2 separate regions of the Homo sapiens genome follow, and region 2 is linked to region 1. The links are contacts of gene promoters, found by promoter capture Hi-C in human tissues and cell types (Jung and others, 2019). All regions are on one chromosome and are shown on one strand. The core of a region is centred on a gene start or on the middle of the fragment in contact, and the rest is flanking DNA. Distances in the headings are between cores, read along the strand shown. Region 1 holds the start of CARD14 (caspase recruitment domain family member 14). Region 2 overlaps RPTOR (regulatory associated protein of MTOR complex 1).

The links. Contacts are between HindIII fragments. The study calls those that stand out against the background at their distance.
Region 2: a fragment that was not itself captured here is called in contact with the fragment with the promoter of CARD14 in region 1 in 2 of the 25 tissues and cell types used here (hippocampus and mesendoderm cells).

What each region holds. Positions count from the first base shown.
Region 1 is chr17:80,166,786-80,171,782 of GRCh38, reverse strand. CARD14 (caspase recruitment domain family member 14) reads right to left here and starts at 1,753. Exons shown (of 24, transcript NM_001366385.1): 1 at 1,727-1,753. The HindIII fragment of the contact is 21,960 bases long and covers 1-3,971 here.
Region 2 is chr17:80,763,124-80,768,368 of GRCh38, reverse strand. The region is part of intron 6 of RPTOR (regulatory associated protein of MTOR complex 1); the gene reads right to left. Among named protein-coding and RNA genes, the nearest start is that of RPTOR, 220 kb to the right of the region's middle. The HindIII fragment of the contact is 5,919 bases long and covers 774-5,245 here.

The DNA of each region.
Region 1 (4,997 bases), core at 504-3,003:
CCAAAGCTGCCTCACCAGCAGCTGAAGACAGGGGCTCTGCAGAACTCTCCAGACCCCAGCCAACTGCCCCAGCCAGCTGCCCCTCAGGCTTCTGGAGCCCCCAGAGCCACACTGAACTTCAAGCATCAGTGGGTGGAGCTAAATAGAAGTCACTAGTCCCTTCTGCAGTTGCCATGAAGCAACTTACAGTAGTCTCCAATGGCAGTTAACAATTGCAGGAGTTTCTTTGTAACTTGTCCCAGTGTAAATAAGGGTTAGTCCTAACAGTAAAACAAAACAAAACAAAACAAAAAACCTTAGGGCTGGGCACAGTGGCTCAGGCCTGTAATCCCAGCACTTTGGAGGCCAAGGCAGGAGGATTGCTTGAGCTCAAGAGTTCAAGGCTGCAGTGAGCTATGATTGTGCCACTGCCCTCCAGCCTGGGTGACAGAGCAAGACCCTGGCTCAAAAAAAGGAAAAGAAAGAAAGAGAGAGAGAGAGAAAGAAAGAAAGAAAAGAAGAAAAGAAAGAGAGAGGAAGGAAGGGAAGGAGAGAGAGAAGGAAGGAAGGAAGGAAGGAAGGAAGGAAGGAAGGAAGGGAGGGAGGGAGGGAGGGAGGGAGGGAGGGAGGAAGGGGAGGGGAAGGGGAAGGTGAATGGGAAGGCGCCAGGAGCCGTGGCTCACGCCCGTAATCCCAGCACTTTGGGAGACCAAGATGGGCGGATTACCTGAAGTCAGGAGTTTGAGACCAGCCTAGCCAACGTGACAAAACCCTGTCTCTACTAAAAATAAAAAAATTAACCAGGTGTGGTGGCGTGCACCTATAGTCCCAGCTACTTGGGAGACTGAGGCAGGAGAATCACCTGAACCCAGGAGGCAGAAATTGCAGTGAGCCGAGATTGTGCCACTGCAACTCTAGCCTGGGCGACAGAGGGAGACTTCTGAAAAAGGAGAGAAGAGGGGAGGGGAGGAGAGGGGAGAGGAGGGGAGGGGAGAGGAGGGGAGGGGACGGGAGGGGAGGGGACGGGAGGGGAGGGGAGGGCCCAGAGATCTCTAATTCCAAACTCTGAATCTAACTGTACAGCAATTCTAGAAGAGCCTAAGATCATAAAATCCTGAGCATCTAAGATGTGGGTTCTCCTTATTTGACCCCTCCCAGGTCAACATCCTTCTCCTAACCCAAGTGTCAGTCTCTTCCCTTGCCAGTGAAGTAGGGAAGAAGGCATGTACACATACACACACGCACACGCACACACACACATGTACATACCCCATGGGGGGCAGAGGGTCACAAGCCCAGGAGGAGGGGGCACAGCTCACCTCGGCCCCCCAGTGCCATGACAGGCTGGCTGTGCCTCTGCTACCAACAGCAGCCAGCTGGTCTTGCTCACTTTGTTCTGAACTTAGACACCTTCCTTCTGCTGTCTTTCATCCCACGGCAATAGCGAAGAGATGAGAGTATAAAACAGAGATCCCTTTCATCTAGCATGACCCATGCTGTTTTAAGGCAGAACTCAGCATTCAGAGAATGTTCCAGTGATTGACCCAGCAACACAGACAAGCCGTTTTCTGTTCTCTAGTCCACATACAAGGCAGCTCCTCCACTCCTGATGAGGAAGATGCCGGCCCCTCCCACTCCCCTGGGACCACTCTCGGGCCCCATCAGACCTGTGTCGGCTGAGCCCCTCCGTAGGCTGAGCCCTCCGTAGGCTGACCTGCTCTTCGCCGGATGGACTGCGCGCACTTACCTTCCCCCTCCCAGGGAAGCGAGGACTGAATGTGGCCCAATCTCTGGCTGAACTGAACGGCAGTGGACAAGCAGGTTTGACAGGCACATCCCACAGGAGCAGTGCCTTATATGGGGCTTCTATGAGCCATCGAAGCACCAGTGCAGTCCCACAGCTAGACATTGCCGTAAGAACCACAGGGATGGCTGAGAACAGTCCGTGCATCTGGTCGACCCACAGAAGATGGTGATTGAGGGTGATTGAGGGGAAGGCTTCAGGCTTGGGGGCTGGGAATCCTCTCTCCTTTGTGAACGGTCACCCAGTTCATCATCATTTCTACCCTTGGGAAAATCCTACGAAGATCAGGATAAATTCTAGGGCCTTTCTTGGTTCTCATGATCCATTATTGGAAGTATCTGAATAATTCCAATAGATCCATCTCAAGTTAACATTTCATAACTATTGTTTAGATTTAGATGAAAGTCTTGGTCCTCCACCTTGAGATATGTCTAGAATCCGATCCATTCTCACCACCTGCATTGTGGTGTCCTGATCATGGCCCACCGGGACCTCTGTAATGGCTCCTAACTTCTTCCCACGCCCCCATCACCAGCGCTCAACACAGCAGACAGAGAAGTCCTGCTAGGGCATGAGTCAGCTCCTGTCATTCCCTTCGGTGTACAGGTCCTGGAGTCCTCAGCGTGACCATGAGGCTCTGCTTATCAGGTCCTTGCTGACCTTATCTCTCTTTTACCTGCTCCAGACACACAGCCCAACAGTCTTGACAGTCCAGGCACACTTCTGCCCCAGGGCCTTTGCACCTGCTGTTCCCACTGCCTGGAACACTCTTTCCCATCCCTCCTTCCAGACTCTACTCAAATGCTACTTCCCAGATCATCCTACTTAAGTCCGTAGACCTCCCATCCTGGCCTTCACTCCCCTTCCCTGTTCCATCTTCTCTGTGGGAATACTGCCTTGACCTAACGTGTATTCTAGTTACGTGGCTTCCTGCCAGCCTCCCCACTCCACAGTAACCTACTGAGGACAATAATTCTTGTCTTTCTTGTTCCCTGCTGTGTCCCCACCCCTAGGGCTGTGATATTCCACAAATATTGGTTGAGCGAATGAATAAACATTGGTTAGGGGCTTGGTTCCCAATGATGCAGACACTGAAAGAAGGGAAATTCACAGGTCCATGGCCTGAGAACCTTCAGGATTATCCTGCGGACAATCAAAGATCGGCCTTCAAGGTCATGTAGCTCATGGTGGCTGAGCAGTAGCTCCAACCCAAATCTCCTGGTGATGAGCCGGCTGAAGGCACAGCCAGTTGGGCAGAGCAAGTGAGAACGCAGGCCGAGGCCAGGTGCAGACATGAACTCTCCAACCAGGGTTACAGCCCCACTGGGTGTCAGCTTCCCCTCAGGCAGTTCATTTAAGCCCCTAAGGCTCAGCTCTCTTAGTTTCCTCCAGCAGACCTCATGATAAGCCCTCCCCCACAGTGGGGAAGCTTGCCAGCTCATCACACTGTGCCAGCCACACAGAGAATTCTAGTTACAGAAAACGCAAAGAAATGCCGCCATTCCCAGTAAAAGAGGGGGGCAGAAGAATGCACTGGAGATGGGAGGAGCCTCCCTAAGAACAGAAATAGCCATAGAAATAGTCAAGGTGCAGCCATAGAAAGGAATGAAGGGCCTTTGCAGAGACATGGATGAAGCTGGAAGCCATCATTCTCAGCAAACTAACATGGGAACAGAAACCCAAACACTGCATGTTCTCACTCATAAGTGGGAGCTGAACAATGAGAACACATGGACACAGGGAGGGGAACAACACACACTGGGGCCTATGGTAGGGGGAGTGGAGGGAGAGCATCAGGACAAATAGCTAATGCACGTGGGGCTTAAAACCTAGGTGATGGGTTGACAGGTGTAGCAAACCACCATGGCACATGTCTACTTATGTAACAAACCTGCACATTCTGCACATGTATCCCGGAACCTAAAATAAAATAAAATAAAAAGAAACAGTCAAGGAAGCCACAACCCTGAAGGACCCTGTGTTTTCTGAGGTCAAAAACCATATCTTAGGCTAGGTGCAGTGGCTCATGCCTGTAACCCCAGTGCATTGAGAGGCTGAGGAGGGAGGATTGCTTGAGGCCAAGAGTTCGAGACCAGCCTGGGCAACACAGGAAGACCCTGTCTCTACAAAAAATAATTTTAAAAAAAAGCCGGGTATGGTGCAACATGCCTGTGGTCCCAGCTACTCCGGAGGCTGAGGTGGGAGGATCGCTTCAGCCCAGGAGGTAGACGCTGCAGTGAGCCGTGGTTGCACCACTGCACTCCAGCCTGGGCAACAGAAGGAGACCCTGTCTCAAACAAAACAAAACAAAACGTATCTTAATCACTATGGCATCTTCAGGAGGGCCCCACTGGCAGGTCATCTATATCACACAGAATTGCAGCTGCATACACATATCCAGAGCCAATAAAGCAGCACCTCTAGTAATCTGGCCAGGTTAGGTTAGGGTATCCCTGGAAAAACTCAGAAGGGGGACCTGGGGGACAGGGGCCAGCAGGCACCAGGACAGCACCACCCAGGGGCTCTGTGCCCCGTGGCAGTGATCAGTGAAGAAACGGACATGTGCCAGACTTGGGCCAGCTGAAGAGCTCCTCTGGGCACTTTTTTTTTTTTTTTGAGACAAGTCTCACTCTGTCACCCAGGCTGGAGTGCAGTGGCTTGACCTCAGCTCACTGCAGCCTCCACCTCCCAGGTTCAAGCGACTCTCCTGCCTCAGCCTCCCGTGTAGCTGGGATTACAGCTATGTGCCACCATGCCCAGCTAATTTTTGTATTTTTAGTAGAGACGGGGTTTCACCATGGTGGCCAGGCTGGTCTCAAACTCCTGATCCCAAGTGATCTGCCCACCTTGGACTCCCAAAGTGCTGGGATTACAGGCATGAGCCACCATGTCTGGCCTCCTCTGGGCACTTTATTCATCCATAGAAGGTAGGGAGTTGGGGAAAAGCTTTGCCTTGAAATCATGATGTTGGCACCAGAAGAAGATGGAGGCGTGAGGCCCTAGAAGAATAAAAATCAGACCCTCACAAGAAAACCCCAAGATCAGGAGTTTAGGTTGATCGAGGAAGGGGGCCTCTACCTGACTCCCCTGCCATGGGTGGATGTAAATAAAGGGTCAGGGTGTATAAACAGGGAGCGTATGCGTCTTCACTCTTGTACCTGGGGGCTGGGAGGATTCCAGGACTTCTTCCAAGACATTCGAAACAGGTCCTCAA
Region 2 (5,245 bases), core at 2,484-4,983, 590 kb before region 1:
CACGGATGCATTCAAACTCTCACAAAAGTCTTTGGGACTCACTAAGCGGCCTACTGAGACCCCAAGTGAGATCACGCACTCCATGGTTCTCCCGTTAGACAGACATGGGAGAAGAGGAAATGTGAGCCAACAGTAAATGACTAGAAGGTAAGTCCCAACGTGAACCAAAAATATAAAGGCAAGCTGCTCTTAAAAAAAAATTCACGTGGTCAGGCGCGGTGGCTCACGCCTGTAATCCCAGCACTTTGGGAGGCCGAGGCGGGCGGATCACGAGGTCTGGAAATCGAGACCATCCTGGCTAACATGGTGAAACCCCATCTCTACTAAAAATACAAAAATTAGCCAGGCATGGTGTTACGTGCCTGTAATCCCAGCTACTCAGAAGGCTGAGGCAGGAGAATCACTTGAAACAGGGAGTCAGAGGTTGCAGTGAGCTGAGATTGCACCACTGCACTCCAGCCTGGCGACACAGCAAGACTCTGTCTCAAAAATAATAAAATAAAATAAAATCATAAAAAAAAAATTCAAGTAACACTTTTTCTTAGGGAAGTAAGCTGATTTGTAAAAGGCCCCAGGTGCATAAAATTTGGTCAAATTAGTCAACAGTTAGGCAGTAACCTTGTAAAGATTTTCTTAGCTTTTACCATTACTAATTACACCGAGCCTTGGGACAGCAACTTAATATGGTCAGCAGATATTTAAACATTTCACAAAGGTTGTCTGTCTATTCTGTTCATCTTAAAGGTTTGGTAAAATTCACTAGTAAAGATATCTGGGTGCGGGGTTGTCTTTGAATGGTTGTTAACCAGAAATTTAATTTACTTAACAGATATATCCTATCCAAATTTTCTTTTTATTCTTCTGTCAGATTTGATAACTTGTGTCTTTCACAGAATTTATCCATTGCATCTAAGATGAAGAATTTACTGGCATATGGTCCTTCATGATTAAAATGATTCCCTTATTCTCCTTTTATTTACTTATAATTTTCATTTTTGGAGACAGGGTCTCACTCTGTGGTCTATGCTGGACCACAGTGACGTGATCACTGCACTGCTCACTACAGCCTCAATGCCTCCCAGTGATCCTCCCACCTCAGCCTCCCAAGTAGCTGGGACTACAAGCGTATGCCACCACGCACGAGTAATTTTTATATTTTGTAGAGATGGGGTTTTGCTATGTTGCCCAGGCTGGTCTTGAACTCCTGGGCTCAAGCGATCCACCTGCCTCGGCCTCCCAAAGTGCTGGGATTATAGGCATGAGCCCCCGCACCTGGCCCCTTATTCTTTTAACATCTGTAGGATCAGTAAGGATGTGCCCTCTTTCATTTCTGATGAAAGTCATTTGTATCTTCCTTCTATTTTTCTTGAGCACTCTAGAAAAAGTTTTGACAATTTTAATGAACCTTTCAAAAACTATCAACTAGTTTCATGAATTTTTACAAATTTTGGGGTCAACTTCTGTTTATTTTTGCTCTTCTCTTTATTATTTCTTTTCTTCTACTTACTTAGGGTTTAATGTATTCTTTTTTTTCTGGACTTAAAGAAAAACTTAGACCATACATTTGAGAGTTTTTTAATTAAAAACTACAAATAGCATTAAATTTTGAGATCAATTATTGCCGGTACATGAACACCTAGTTAAGTAATGGTGCCTGTTTCTTTCCCTAGTGACAAACAGTGAGCTTACAAACAGCAGTAAGAAAGGGTACAGTGCACACCTCTAGGTGGACCTTTGCAAGCATTTCTATACACTATTAACAAAGGAAAAGAACTGCCAACTAAACAGGTATGTTACTTATTGTAAGATGCTTCTGGACCCCAGATATGTTAAGTGTGAAAACGCACATGCTGGGATCAGGCGTGGTGGCTCATGCCTGGAATTCCAGCACTTTGGGAGGCTAAAGCAGGAGGATCACTTGAGCCCAGGAGTTCAAGGATGCAGTGAGCTATGACTGTGTCACTGCACTCCCATCTAAGTAAAAGGGAGAGACCCTGTCTCTATTTTTTAAAAAAGGACCAGACATGGTGCCTCATGCTTGTAATTCCAGCACTTTGTAAGGCTGAGGTGGGAGGATCTCTTGAGCTTAGGAGTTCGAGACCAGCCTGGGCAACATGGTGACACAGTCTCTACAAAAGATACAAAAATTAGTCAGAATGGTGGCATACACCTGTAGTCCCAGTTACCTGGGGGGCTGAGGTGGGGGGATTGCTTGAGCCCGAGAAGTTGAGACTACGGTGGGCCGTGTTCACACCACTGCACTCCAGCCTGGGTGACAAAGCAAGATCACGTCTTAAAAAAAATTTAAAAAGTACATGCTAGAATCAGTGAACTATGTTAGATGGCCCTTACTGTAAACAGATAATTACAAATGTTCACATTCCTTCTGCTGGTTATGGAGTTATCTTACTGGGGGTCAGGAATTCTAATACTGTTTTAGTGCGAGAGAGAATCTTTGCCTTGTTCCCAGCTTCGAAGGGAAGACGTCTCCAGTCTCCCCACTAGGCTGGTTTGCTGAAGAGCTCTGATGTAGCCTTTACCACGTTAAGTAAGTCGTGGTAACCTCTATTTAGACGTGACAGACTATAGATGATAGTGATCTCAACTTCCTCCATAACGAGAGAAAAAGAACAGGACAAGGACGGAGAGCCCCAGGAAGGAAATCATGGCAAATGAGAGACGCTGGGCAGGAGAGAGAGAGGCGGAACAACAGAGTTGAGGCTGTCAGTTCGGGAGCCTGGGCACCCAGCTTTGAATCCTGACTCCACCAGCTACTCTCCAAGCAACCTGAACTTCCTCATCCTGAAAGCAGCACTAACGCCAGTCCAAACCTTACAGGCGTGTGGTGTTAGATGAGTGCATTAGTGGAATGGCTCCAGTGACGCTCGACAAATGCTAGCTACTGTTATCCCTGTAACTGTAAAATGTCAACCAAACGTTAAGAAACAGTTGGACAAGCGTAAGTGGCTCAGCAGAGGTGAGAGAAGTGAAGCCTTTGACCTGGACGGTGCAAAGTCAAAATGAAGCACTCACCTCCCAAAGCCTGCTGTCAGCAAGTATCAAGAACTGAGACAACTGGCTCTCTGAAAAGAAGAACTGAGAGCAAGTGCCCAGATGAAAATCTGTGAGAAGAGTGTTCAGAGGCCCTGGACGCCCCCTCCCACACTGGCAGGACTCCCAGGAAATGAAGCAGAGACCCTATGGATGCAGAGATGCGACGGACAGCGTAGGGCTGCCTGTATCTTTCAGATTCGCTCTCTTCATTTTGTTTTTCATCTGTTTATTGCATTTTTCCCCTGGCTCTTTAAGGCAAACATTTAATTTTTCTTGTTTTTTTAATCTTTGTTTTCTGACTAAATGTATTAAATCCTCGCCTGCTTTGGCTACATACACCCCACAAACAGCAAATGTGCTATTACTAACATTTGGCTGTGAGTATTTTATCAGTTTTAAAGTATTTCCTCTTTAGAAATGCAAATCAAAACCACAATGAGATACCATCTCACACCAGTTAGAATGGCAATCGTTAAAAAGTCAGGAAACAACAGGTGCTGGAGAGGATGTGGAGAAACAGGAACACTTTTACACTGTTGGTGGGACTGTAAACTAGTTCAACCATTGTGGAAGTCAGTGTGGCGATTCCTCAGGGATCTAGAACTAGAAATACCATTTGACCCAGCCATCCCATTACTGGGTATATACTCAAAGGACTATAAATCATGCTGCTATAAAGACACATGCACACGTATGTTTACTGTGGCACTATTCACAATAGCAAAGACTTGGAACCAACCCAAATGTCCAACAATGATAGACTGGATTAAGAAAATGTGGCACATATACACCATGGAATACTATGCGGCCATAAAAAATGATGAGTTCATGTCCTTTGTAGGGACATGGATGAAATTGGAAATCATCATTCTCAGTAAACTATTGCAAGGACAAAAAACCAAACACTGCATGTTCTCACTCATAGGTGGGAACTGAACAATGAGAACACATGGACACAGGAAGGGGAACATCACACTCTGGGCCTGTTGTGGGGTGGGGGGAGGGGGGAGGGATAGCATTAGGAGATATACCTAATGCTAAATGACGAGTTAATGGGTGCAGCACACCAGCATGTCACATGTATACATATGTAACCTGCACATTGTGCACATGTACCCTAAAACTTAAAAGTATAATAATAAAATAAAATAAAATAAAATAAAATAAAATAAAATAAAATAAAATAAAATAAAATAACAAAAGAAGTCATACGGTCAGGACTTCAAGTTAGTTAAAGAGATTTTAGGTTTCTCTGCTATATATCAATAATCAGTTTCTAAAAAGACATCTATAGTAGCTATGTGCTTATATAAGTCAATTTTCCCTGTTCAGGTTGATGTCAGGATGAAACAATATGTATAAAGAGATTAGTTATTGGGATTAATGTCAAAGTTCTACAATGAAGTCAAATAAATGTGTAAGTGTGTACATGTAAAAAAAAATAAAAAATATAAAATATTTCCTCTTTAATCCAAGGATTTTAAGATTTTAGTTTTCAGACTTTTGTTAAAGCTGTCCTTTCGTTACTGAGTTCTAGCTTCATTGCGTGTGGTCTGCCACGGAGTTCACACGATGCTGATTCTTCCGGATTAGTAAAGCTTTCTTTGTAGTCGGGCGCATGATTTATTTTTGTGAATGGTCCACATATGTCCACATTCCCTGTTGGATGTATGGTCCTGTGTGCCTCTGTGAGGTCTGGCTAATTAATTCGGTGACAAAAGTCGTATTTACGTTGCTTCCTTTGTCTGTACTTGGTGTCTCTGTATCTAAGCACACTTCTCATTCATCTGCTTCCATCCACACTTCAGCTCCCATCTTATCTCGTTCGAGGCCACGTTGTCAGGTGCACACAGTCATCATCAGTATATACCTTCCTGCTTTCCTGTTCGTTTTACCACAATACAACATTTTTCTTTGCCCCTCTCAATAATTTATCTCAGCTTCTGCTTTAAGTCATATTGGGACTGGCCACCCCAGCTTTCTTTTAGCTCGTATTTCTCTTTTTCATCTTCTGATTTCCAACCTTTGAAATACATGTTCTTATTTTTTATTATTATTATTTTTTTTTAGAGACTGGGTCTTACCCTGTCACCCAGGCTGGAGTGCAGTGGCACAATCACAGCTCACTGCAGCCTTGAACTCCTGGGCTCAACTGATCCTCCTGCCTCAGCCTCCCGAGGAACTGAGACCA